Regions from separate parts of the Homo sapiens genome. Here region 1 is linked to region 2. Evidence: promoter capture Hi-C in 16 types of primary human blood cells and fetal thymus (Javierre and others, 2016). All regions are on one chromosome and are shown on one strand. The core of a region is centred on a gene start or on the middle of the fragment in contact, and the rest is flanking DNA. Distances in the headings are between cores, read along the strand shown. Region 1 overlaps DMRTC2 (DMRT like family C2). Region 2 holds the start of CEACAM5 (CEA cell adhesion molecule 5).

The links. Contacts are between HindIII fragments. The CHiCAGO score rates a contact against its expected background, and 5 or more counts as called.
Region 1: a contact is called between a fragment that was not itself captured here and the fragment with the promoter of CEACAM5 in region 2, in 1 of 17 cell types (M1 macrophages). The highest score is 5.1, in M1 macrophages.

Annotation. Positions count from the first base shown.
Region 1 is chr19:41,848,991-41,855,506 of GRCh38, forward strand. DMRTC2 (DMRT like family C2) reads left to right here. Exons shown (of 9, transcript NM_001040283.3): 6 at 140-266; 7 at 1,322-1,382; 8 at 1,536-1,710; 9 at 2,594-3,343. The coding sequence ends at 2,706. Among named protein-coding and RNA genes, the nearest start is that of DMRTC2, 7.2 kb to the left of the region's middle. The HindIII fragment of the contact is 1,104 bases long and covers 2,857-3,960 here.
Region 2 is chr19:41,703,894-41,709,875 of GRCh38, forward strand. CEACAM5 (CEA cell adhesion molecule 5) reads left to right here and starts at 4,733. Exons shown (of 10, transcript NM_004363.6): 1 at 4,733-4,902; 2 at 5,787-5,982. The coding sequence starts at 4,839. RefSeq lists silencers at 2,854-2,973, 2,994-3,043, 3,074-3,123. The HindIII fragment of the contact is 18,236 bases long and covers 1-5,982 here.

The sequences.
Region 1 (6,516 bases), core at 2,159-4,658, 140 kb after region 2:
AACATTCATTCAACATATATTTGAGTGCCAATCTGCCACATATTGGAGAGGGAAGAGGAAGAAAGCATAGGTGGGGAGAGGGAGGAAAGAAACTATGACCTTGGCCCCTATACACTCTGCATTCTTTTATTCTTATTAGGCTTTGACCCTGGCACCTCCCTCCAGCTGCCCACTCATGGGCCCTTCACCACCTGCCCAGGATCTCACCCAGTACTGACAGCTCCTCTTTCTGGAGAGCCCCAAGGGCCCCCTAGCCAGCCCCGCACGTGAGTAGGGAGAGAAGGATGTGTATCATAAGCCTAAGCCTGTGCTGTGTCCAACCACAGTGCTGGTGTCCAACCACAGTGGATAATGAAGATGAAAAGGTCTCTGACTAATAGGCAAGGCAGAGCTCTCCTAGTACTGCCATTTCCTAGCTGTGATGCTTTGGACAATTATCTTTACCTCTCTGAGCCTGTTTTTCTATCAGTAAATTGGAGACACTATTACTTACCTCTCTGATTGTTGTAAGAATTAGCAATAATGTATGGAATAGACCTAGCACAGACTCTTTAATGGTAGCTGTTATATCTGCTTAGACAGATTTGATGGGGTAAGATTGCCTGCTGATATGGGGGGCAGAGATGATGAGAGCCTCAGAGACCCAGGAGAGGGGCCAGAGGCCATTAGGAAAAGCTTCCCAAAGGTGAGCCAAGCTCTCCTTCAAGTTCTATGGTGACTGGGGAACTGGGGGAATGGGACCCAGACTCTGATAGGTCAGGGACAGTAATCTCAGTCTTCTAGGTGTTTTTTTAAAAACCGGCATCAGGTGGGGCCTGGTGGCTCACACCTGTAATCCCAACACTTTGGGAGGCTGAGGTGGGAGGATTACTTGAGGCCAAGAGTTTGAGACCACCTGAGTAACTGAGCGAGACTTCGTCTCTACAAAAAAATTAAAACAGCCAGGAATGGTGGTGCACACCTGTTTTCCTGGCTACTTAGGAGGCTGAGGTGGGAAGATGGTGTAGGCCCAGGAGTTCAAGCTTATGGTGAGCCATGATCACACCGCCACTGCACTCCAGCCTAGGTGACAGAGCAAGAGCCTGTCTCAAAAAAAAAAAAGACACTAGTGATTTCCCATAATCCTCACAGTAGCCCTGGGAGGAAAAACTGGCAAGGATTTTTACTTTACTGAAAACAAAATAAGTCAAGACACAGCTTAATGGCCCAGCAGGCTCTCAGATTCCCAGATCAAAACATGGCAAAATCCTGCCCCTCTTTCAATGTGTGCATGTCTGTTCATCTGTTTAACCACCCTGGCATCTTCTCTCCTTGTTTCTAGACACTCAACTCTGATACTCCAGCCCTGTGGCACCCCAGACCCTCTTCAGCTACAGCCACAGGTCCTGGGAAAGAAGTGGGATCTAGGGCCCTGGGAGGAGGTTGAGCCTGGGGAAGGAAAAAGCAGGAAACTGAAGGAAGCAGGGGCTGAGGAACACTTAGAGGGTGGGCAGAAGCGGGGGTTCCCAGTCTGCTTGTCTCCCTTTCCCTTGCAGGCCTCTGGAGCCTCGTGCCTGGCCCGGACATCTGGCCCCTCAGAGTGGCAGCTGCAGCAAGAGGCAGCTGAAGCCCTCGTGGGGCTGAAAGATTCATCCCAGGCTCCTCGTGTGACCCCTTCTGTGCCCCCCAACCCTGCCTGGATCTCCCTGCTTCACCCCTGTGGCCCACCAGGTGGGCCATGAAAGGAGAGGATGGATAGGGATGGCTGGGAAATGGAGATCACTGAAGTACACAGGGACTAACCAAGGAGATGAGGGGGTCGACAGGTTGAACGTCTTCAGGCCCAGGACCCCAAGCTCCTCAGCCTGGCCCCTGGGATTGCAGTTGAGAGTTATTCAGTGAATCCTTTTTATCAGTTTGGCACTCGACAGCAAATTTCTTGATATCAAGGAAAGTGGGGCACTGAGAAAGGCAGGGACTTGCCCAAGGGCATATAGTGAGACAGTGGCAGGGAACCCAATGCTCTGTCTCTGGACCCAGGCTGCCTGCTGAAGTCTGAAGTGGGGTCTGGCCTGGGAGGAGGTCTGATAAGTGCCTTCAAGGAGCTTACGTTCTAGTTAGGGAAATTGGATGCCTTCACAAGGCTCAGTGACAAACCTGAAGAAGATTGGAGGAACCTTGAAGAGTGAGAAACACCTAGGGGGACAGACAGGGAAAGCTGCGAATTCTCTTGTCCAAATAGTGGATTGGGCAGACTGGCCTGGAGGAAATGCTAGAACAGAGGGAAAGGAGGCTGGAGAGGCTTCTGATGGTGGAGATCTGGCATGCCAGGCTTAGGTGTCTAGAACAGCAACTGTATGTGAAGGGGAGCCAGGGAACGTTTCTGAACTAAGCAAGGACAAATTCAGAGACCCTGAGCTTTAGAAAGACAAGTGGGTGGCTTTGATGGACGGTTTGGAGGAGGCAAGACTGGAGGTGGGAAAATTAGCAAGGAGGTCTGTGAAATAATCCAGGAGAACAATGATGAGGCCTGGATTGGATTCGGTAAAAAGAGGGGGTTGCTAGAAGGAAAAACAGGTGTGACCTGATCCTGCCCCTTCCTTCTTGCCTGTAGCTCCTGCTGGAGGAAGAGGATTCCAGCCTGTTGGCCCCTGTCTTCGACCCAGCCCAGCCCCCTCTGTTGCTCTGCATATTGGCCGTCTGGGGTCCATCTCCCTCCTGAGCTAGAAACCCAGAGATGGAGGCTGTCTTGCTATGGCAGGGAGGTGACAGCCTGCTGGCACTGTATATTTAGTGTCTTACTTAAGGATTTATGCATGGAATTTAATGTAGTACAAGCTTCGGGCTTTTTTGTTTGTTTGTTTGTTTGTTTGTTTAAGCTTTCAGGTGCTTCATTAGCTTTCAGTTCCTTTGGTAGTGTGGGCATTTCCTTGGCTGACAGTGGATATTCTTGTACCCTTCTTGGGTCCTGGGATCTCTTGAAATCCCCAATAAAGAGAGAGTTGTGCTATTTAAGCTGACCAGTATCTATAAACGTGTTTGCATGAGTTTACATCCCAGGATTCCATGATTCTGTAAATGCCTATGCATTCATGTCTGTCTCCATGCATGTGAAAACAGGAGAGTGTTTTCATTTTGTGTCTAGGTTTGTGTGAGTAAGCAAGAAATAAACCTTTGTTGTTGTAAGCCACTGAGATTTGGAGAGTGTTACCACAGCCTAACCTAGTCTATCCTGACTGACAGAAAGGACTTGTTCATTTCGCTTCTCAAAGTGAAAAATCTGTTATCCAATAGCTACCATAGATGAAAACAAACTTGGATTTTTTTCTTTGTCCAAATAAAAAAAAATGATGTAAAGAAATAATGGGGGATTCACTGATTAATTGCCCGCTCTGTGCCAGGCATAGACAGTTTCCAGCTGTCTAGAGGGGCTACAAATCGAAATGCCTACAGGGCTGAGCAGATCAAATAAATGAGTAAAGAAGGCCAGATGGACCCTGGCAAACTGAGAATGGATGCCTTGCCTAAGGAGCAGCCTCCTTTTGGCCCTAGCAGATTACTGCCAGGCGGGAATGTGGACTCAGTGTTGCTCCATCTTCTGATTTTTTAAGAGAAACTGGAAAACTAGATTTCCATGTAAAACATCTTAATTTTCAAATGTTGGCTCAGTTTTCTTCTTTAAATTCTATACGTGCCAAATAAAACATATTTTCAGGCTAGCTTTGGCCAGTGGAATACCAATTTGATACATTTTCCAGATGGGGAAATTGAGGCTAACCAGAATAGAAAGAATCGAGTTAGTCTTTATCACAAGTTTTTCCTCAACTAGGGAGGTTCACGTGTCTGAGTTTCGAAGGATCCATAAAAGGTTAAGAAACATTTATTACCATTTATTGAGTGCCCACTCCATTTGATTCACATATCTTCACAGCAACCCTGGAAGTTATGCAGGATGGTTCCCATTTTACAAGTGAAGAAACAAGCTTAAAGAGGTAAAGTAACTTGCCCAAGTGTTTTAGGGGAAATTTCTAGGCAGAGATCAGAGGAGGGTTCCTTCTCTTTGCCAGGCTCCAAATTAGTTAATAATGTTTATAAAGCATTGGGCCGGGTGTGATAGCTCACACCTGTAATCCCAGCACTTTGGGAGGCCAAGGCAGGAGGATCGCTTGAGCCCAGGAGTTTGAGACCAGCCTGAGTAACACGGGGAGACCCTGTCTCTATAAAAACAAATAAATAAAAGCATAGAATGAAAGATGCACCACTCCTTTCCCCAATCAGGACTCCAGAAGATACATACAAGTCAAGAGTTTTTCAAAAAAGTCTTTTATTTTTCTCCTCAAGATATCATTAAGAATAAGATCTTACCTGCATTTGTTTCTCAGTCCTCTGGTGTCAAGTCCTTCTCCTTGAACCATTCCGTACATAGGAAAACCTGTTGAGCTATTCCAAAGACATGAAGCCTGGAGACCCCCTTCCCATTCCCACCCTTAGAAGGGGCTCAAGGGATGTGCTTGATCACTGATTCTTTTTCCTGATGTTACCTACACCCCTTGTTTTACTCAAGATGATTGATGGTGATGACATCCAATTACAACTTGTTATTTCTTATTTGGGATTTTGAGAGGGTGGGTTTCTTCTCCTCCCTAGCAGAGTACAGAGTAACAAACCTGCAGCACTTCTCAGGAGATACTGAGATATCAGGAGACCAAAGTCGGCTTCACACCCTTCTTCCCTCCCCTTAGCTATAACTTAGATATATGATTGCTCCTTAATAGACCTGCCTAAGACTTGGTGTGCCATGCTTTCCTAGTGACAGATGACCAGGGCCACAAAGTCACAGAGAAAGGAAGCACTGCAACATGCAACATGGCTGAGATTCTGCTACTCAGCACTGACCAAGGGTCCTCTGTACACCAAGGTCACAGAGCTGAGAAGGGTAAAAGAGAAAGTATAATTTGGGGTTAAAGGATGGCATGAAAAGGGGAGGAAAAGAGGAAGTGATGGAGATTGGGGGAAGGAGTAGACTAGAGGCCACCTCTCCTTCACCTCTCCTCCAGTACCCGGCCTTCAGTACCCAGCCTGGGCAAGGCTTTTCACACCAGTTGGCCAGGCCAACTTTGTCTTTCAAATCGTTAGGGCCCCCCATTAGTGCCTGAGGGAAAGGGCCAGAGCTTCTGCAGATGTCAGTCTTAGGGAAAAGAGCAGATTTAAGAGTTGCTCATGCTCCTAAGTTGTTGCCTGTTCAGGTGCAGCACTCTTCACCTGTGGTTGTAGGGAGCCAGTAGGCTCCTGGCCTCTTCTTGGCTCTGAGAGATTACAGATAATAGACTGTGAGCACTGTTTCCTATACTGCCCCCTTTCCCACTTCCCAGTGCCAGGTAGGGAAAGGTATTGCCATGGTCCAATAAAGTACTGAGTAAATCATCTCCCTTCTAAACCTTCTTTGTGTACCCTCTTGGCACTCTGCAGACTTAACCAATGAGGTCCCAACTATGAAGCACCGTCCCTGTTCCTCTCTCTCCTCACAAGACTCCTCCCCACAGTCACCCAGGTTTTATTTCAGGAGCTTATTTCACATTCTGCCCTTTGGGAATCCATGCTCCTTTCGCTTCAGCCCTACATTAACTTGCTCCACTCCTGACCTCAATTCTCGTCCAACGTAGAACTGACATCATACACTTATCCCATCCAGCCTATACGCAGACCCTCATTGCTTCGTCCACATAGGCCTCATTCTGCACCCCTGTTCCATTGTGTAGCTGGCTTTGCAGCCCTGACACGTTTGCATAAATACAGTCCTATAACCCCTACCCTGCATGGGCCTTCACAAGATCCTGAACTCTTCACAAAACCAAAGTTCATCCTTTTCATCCAACTCAAAATAATATGTTAAGCCTCTCAGGCAGAGTTCCCTATGTTCCCAAGGGGCCACTGGTCTCTACTTCATAGTCCTGATCACCCTGAGCTGTGCCTATCTATGTCCATCTATGTCTCCCCCTCAGAGAATAAGCACTCTCAGAGCACAGGACTTGCCTGCAGCTCCTCCTTGGGAGCTCAGAATAAATGACTGAGTAAAATACGTTCTGTCTGATTCCTTAGGAATTGTTTTTTCCTACTGAGTTAACACACTCCAATGCTGCCCCTCTCCTCATCAAAATGTGAACTTTCTGACCTCAAACCATTTTTTCTAAGACAGCCTCTGTCACCCAAGCTGGAGTACAGTGGCACAGTCATGGCTCACGGCAGCCTCAACCTCCCAGGCTCAAGTGACCCTCCAGCCTCAGCCTCCTGAGTAGCTGGGACTACAGGCATACACCTCCATGTGAGACTAATTTTTATTTTTTGTAGAGACAGTGTCTCACTATGTTGCCCAGGCTGGTCTTGAATGTCTGAGCTCAACCGATCCTCCTGTCTCAGCCTCCCAAAGTGCTGGGATTAGAGTTGTTTTGTTTGTATGTGTGTATTTTTGTTTCTTATTATTTTGGGATTAGAGTTGTGAGCCACCGTACCCAGCAAAAAAACCTTCAGGGGCCAGAT
Region 2 (5,982 bases), core at 3,483-5,982:
CCACTTCTCCAGGGCAGATACCTGTGAACATCCAAAACCATGCCACAGAACCCTGCCTGGGGTCTACAACACATATGGACTGTGAGCACCAAGTCCAGCCCTGAATCTGTGACCACCTGCCAAGATGCCCCTAACTGGGATCCACCAATCACTGCACATGGCAGGCAGCGAGGCTTGGAGGTGCTTCGCCACAAGGCAGCCCCAATTTGCTGGGAGTTTCTTGGCACCTGGTAGTGGTGAGGAGCCTTGGGACCCTCAGGATTACTCCCCTTAAGCATAGTGGGGACCCTTCTGCATCCCCAGCAGGTGCCCCGCTCTTCAGAGCCTCTCTCTCTGAGGTTTACCCAGACCCCTGCACCAATGAGACCATGCTGAAGCCTCAGAGAGAGAGATGGAGCTTTGACCAGGAGCCGCTCTTCCTTGAGGGCCAGGGCAGGGAAAGCAGGAGGCAGCACCAGGAGTGGGAACACCAGTGTCTAAGCCCCTGATGAGAACAGGGTGGTCTCTCCCATATGCCCATACCAGGCCTGTGAACAGAATCCTCCTTCTGCAGTGACAATGTCTGAGAGGACGACATGTTTCCCAGCCTAACGTGCAGCCATGCCCATCTACCCACTGCCTACTGCAGGACAGCACCAACCCAGGAGCTGGGAAGCTGGGAGAAGACATGGAATACCCATGGCTTCTCACCTTCCTCCAGTCCAGTGGGCACCATTTATGCCTAGGACACCCACCTGCCGGCCCCAGGCTCTTAAGAGTTAGGTCACCTAGGTGCCTCTGGGAGGCCGAGGCAGGAGAATTGCTTGAACCCGGGAGGCAGAGGTTGCAGTGAGCCGAGATCACACCACTGCACTCCAGCCTGGGTGACAGAATGAGACTCTGTCTCAAAAAAAAAGAGAAAGATAGCATCAGTGGCTACCAAGGGCTAGGGGCAGGGGAAGGTGGAGAGTTAATGATTAATAGTATGAAGTTTCTATGTGAGATGATGAAAATGTTCTGGAAAAAAAAATATAGTGGTGAGGATGTAGAATATTGTGAATATAATTAACGGCATTTAATTGTACACTTAACATGATTAATGTGGCATATTTTATCTTATGTATTTGACTACATCCAAGAAACACTGGGAGAGGGAAAGCCCACCATGTAAAATACACCCACCCTAATCAGATAGTCCTCATTGTACCCAGGTACAGGCCCCTCATGACCTGCACAGGAATAACTAAGGATTTAAGGACATGAGGCTTCCCAGCCAACTGCAGGTGCACAACATAAATGTATCTGCAAACAGACTGAGAGTAAAGCTGGGGGCACAAACCTCAGCACTGCCAGGACACACACCCTTCTCGTGGATTCTGACTTTATCTGACCCGGCCCACTGTCCAGATCTTGTTGTGGGATTGGGACAAGGGAGGTCATAAAGCCTGTCCCCAGGGCACTCTGTGTGAGCACACGAGACCTCCCCACCCCCCCACCGTTAGGTCTCCACACATAGATCTGACCATTAGGCATTGTGAGGAGGACTCTAGCGCGGGCTCAGGGATCACACCAGAGAATCAGGTACAGAGAGGAAGACGGGGCTCGAGGAGCTGATGGATGACACAGAGCAGGGTTCCTGCAGTCCACAGGTCCAGCTCACCCTGGTGTAGGTGCCCCATCCCCCTGATCCAGGCATCCCTGACACAGCTCCCTCCCGGAGCCTCCTCCCAGGTGACACATCAGGGTCCCTCACTCAAGCTGTCCAGAGAGGGCAGCACCTTGGACAGCGCCCACCCCACTTCACTCTTCCTCCCTCACAGGGCTCAGGGCTCAGGGCTCAAGTCTCAGAACAAATGGCAGAGGCCAGTGAGCCCAGAGATGGTGACAGGGCAATGATCCAGGGGCAGCTGCCTGAAACGGGAGCAGGTGAAGCCACAGATGGGAGAAGATGGTTCAGGAAGAAAAATCCAGGAATGGGCAGGAGAGGAGAGGAGGACACAGGCTCTGTGGGGCTGCAGCCCAGGATGGGACTAAGTGTGAAGACATCTCAGCAGGTGAGGCCAGGTCCCATGAACAGAGAAGCAGCTCCCACCTCCCCTGATGCACGGACACACAGAGTGTGTGGTGCTGTGCCCCCAGAGTCGGGCTCTCCTGTTCTGGTCCCCAGGGAGTGAGAAGTGAGGTTGACTTGTCCCTGCTCCTCTCTGCTACCCCAACATTCACCTTCTCCTCATGCCCCTCTCTCTCAAATATGATTTGGATCTATGTCCCCGCCCAAATCTCATGTCAAATTGTAAACCCCAATGTTGGAGGTGGGGCCTTGTGAGAAGTGATTGGATAATGCGGGTGGATTTTCTGCTTTGATGCTGTTTCTGTGATAGAGATCTCACATGATCTGGTTGTTTAAAAGTGTGTAGCACCTCTCCCCTCTCTCTCTCTCTCTCTTACTCATGCTCTGCCATGTAAGACGTTCCTGTTTCCCCTTCACCGTCCAGAATGATTGTAAGTTTTCTGAGGCCTCCCCAGGAGCAGAAGCCACTATGCTTCCTGTACAACTGCAGAATGATGAGCGAATTAAACCTCTTTTCTTTATAAATTACCCAGTCTCAGGTATTTCTTTATAGCAATGCGAGGACAGACTAATACAATCTTCTACTCCCAGATCCCCGCACACGCTTAGCCCCAGACATCACTGCCCCTGGGAGCATGCACAGCGCAGCCTCCTGCCGACAAAAGCAAAGTCACAAAAGGTGACAAAAATCTGCATTTGGGGACATCTGATTGTGAAAGAGGGAGGACAGTACACTTGTAGCCACAGAGACTGGGGCTCACCGAGCTGAAACCTGGTAGCACTTTGGCATAACATGTGCATGACCCGTGTTCAATGTCTAGAGATCAGTGTTGAGTAAAACAGCCTGGTCTGGGGCCGCTGCTGTCCCCACTTCCCTCCTGTCCACCAGAGGGCGGCAGAGTTCCTCCCACCCTGGAGCCTCCCCAGGGGCTGCTGACCTCCCTCAGCCGGGCCCACAGCCCAGCAGGGTCCACCCTCACCCGGGTCACCTCGGCCCACGTCCTCCTCGCCCTCCGAGCTCCTCACACGGACTCTGTCAGCTCCTCCCTGCAGCCTATCGGCCGCCCACCTGAGGCTTGTCGGCCGCCCACTTGAGGCCTGTCGGCTGCCCTCTGCAGGCAGCTCCTGTCCCCTACACCCCCTCCTTCCCCGGGCTCAGCTGAAAGGGCGTCTCCCAGGGCAGCTCCCTGTGATCTCCAGGACAGCTCAGTCTCTCACAGGCTCCGACGCCCCCTATGCTGTCACCTCACAGCCCTGTCATTACCATTAACTCCTCAGTCCCATGAAGTTCACTGAGCGCCTGTCTCCCGGTTACAGGAAAACTCTGTGACAGGGACCACGTCTGTCCTGCTCTCTGTGGAATCCCAGGGCCCAGCCCAGTGCCTGACACGGAACAGATGCTCCATAAATACTGGTTAAATGTGTGGGAGATCTCTAAAAAGAAGCATATCACCTCCGTGTGGCCCCCAGCAGTCAGAGTCTGTTCCATGTGGACACAGGGGCACTGGCACCAGCATGGGAGGAGGCCAGCAAGTGCCCGCGGCTGCCCCAGGAATGAGGCCTCAACCCCCAGAGCTTCAGAAGGGAGGACAGAGGCCTGCAGGGAATAGATCCTCCGGCCTGACCCTGCAGCCTAATCCAGAGTTCAGGGTCAGCTCACACCACGTCGACCCTGGTCAGCATCCCTAGGGCAGTTCCAGACAAGGCCGGAGGTCTCCTCTTGCCCTCCAGGGGGTGACATTGCACACAGACATCACTCAGGAAACGGATTCCCCTGGACAGGAACCTGGCTTTGCTAAGGAAGTGGAGGTGGAGCCTGGTTTCCATCCCTTGCTCCAACAGACCCTTCTGATCTCTCCCACATACCTGCTCTGTTCCTTTCTGGGTCCTATGAGGACCCTGTTCTGCCAGGGGTCCCTGTGCAACTCCAGACTCCCTCCTGGTACCACCATGGGGAAGGTGGGGTGATCACAGGACAGTCAGCCTCGCAGAGGACAGAGACCACCCAGGACTGTCAGGGAGAACATGGACAGGCCCTGAGCCGCAGCTCAGCCAACAGACACGGAGAGGGAGGGTCCCCCTGGAGCCTTCCCCAAGGACAGCAGAGCCCAGAGTCACCCACCTCCCTCCACCACAGTCCTCTCTTTCCAGGACACACAAGACACCTCCCCCTCCACATGCAGGATCTGGGGACTCCTGAGACCTCTGGGCCTGGGTCTCCATCCCTGGGTCAGTGGCGGGGTTGGTGGTACTGGAGACAGAGGGCTGGTCCCTCCCCAGCCACCACCCAGTGAGCCTTTTTCTAGCCCCCAGAGCCACCTCTGTCACCTTCCTGTTGGGCATCATCCCACCTTCCCAGAGCCCTGGAGAGCATGGGGAGACCCGGGACCCTGCTGGGTTTCTCTGTCACAAAGGAAAATAATCCCCCTGGTGTGACAGACCCAAGGACAGAACACAGCAGAGGTCAGCACTGGGGAAGACAGGTTGTCCTCCCAGGGGATGGGGGTCCATCCACCTTGCCGAAAAGATTTGTCTGAGGAACTGAAAATAGAAGGGAAAAAAGAGGAGGGACAAAAGAGGCAGAAATGAGAGGGGAGGGGACAGAGGACACCTGAATAAAGACCACACCCATGACCCACGTGATGCTGAGAAGTACTCCTGCCCTAGGAAGAGACTCAGGGCAGAGGGAGGAAGGACAGCAGACCAGACAGTCACAGCAGCCTTGACAAAACGTTCCTGGAACTCAAGCTCTTCTCCACAGAGGAGGACAGAGCAGACAGCAGAGACCATGGAGTCTCCCTCGGCCCCTCCCCACAGATGGTGCATCCCCTGGCAGAGGCTCCTGCTCACAGGTGAAGGGAGGACAACCTGGGAGAGGGTGGGAGGAGGGAGCTGGGGTCTCCTGGGTAGGACAGGGCTGTGAGACGGACAGAGGGCTCCTGTTGGAGCCTGAATAGGGAAGAGGACATCAGAGAGGGACAGGAGTCACACCAGAAAAATCAAATTGAACTGGAATTGGAAAGGGGCAGGAAAACCTCAAGAGTTCTATTTTCCTAGTTAATTGTCACTGGCCACTACGTTTTTAAAAATCATAATAACTGCATCAGATGACACTTTAAATAAAAACATAACCAGGGCATGAAACACTGTCCTCATCCGCCTACCGCGGACATTGGAAAATAAGCCCCAGGCTGTGGAGGGCCCTGGGAACCCTCATGAACTCATCCACAGGAATCTGCAGCCTGTCCCAGGCACTGGGGTGCAACCAAGATCACACAAATCCCTGCCCTCATGAAGCTCATGCTCTCATGGGGAGGAAGACAGACATACAAAGAGATCTAGAATGTGAGGTCAGGTGTTGACAAGAGCCCTGGAGGGAATAGAGCAGGGAAAGGTCAGAAAAGGAAGACCCAGGGTCTCTAGAGGAGGTGTCAGGGAAGGGATCTCCCAAGAATGCCCTGATGTGAGCAGGACCTGAAGGCAATGGGGAGGGAGCCGTGAAGACCCCTGGAAAAGCAGATTCCACACAGGGAAATGCCAAGGTCAGAGGTGCTAAGGAAATAGGAGACACACTGCTGACCTTGACCTAGTAGGACACACACACACACACACACACACACACACTCACTCACTCCAGGGCTGGGGGATGAAGAGACCTGCTCAGGACCCAGGACCCCATTTTTCCACCCTAATGCATAGGTCCCAATATTGACCGATGCTCTCTGCTCTCTCCTAGCCTCACTTCTAACCTTCTGGAACCCGCCCACCACTGCCAAGCTCACTATTGAATCCACGCCGTTCAATGTCGCAGAGGGGAAGGAGGTGCTTCTACTTGTCCACAATCTGCCCCAGCATCTTTTTGGCTACAGCTGGTACAAAGGTGAAAGAGTGGATGGCAACCGTCAAATTATAGGATATGTAATAGGAACTCA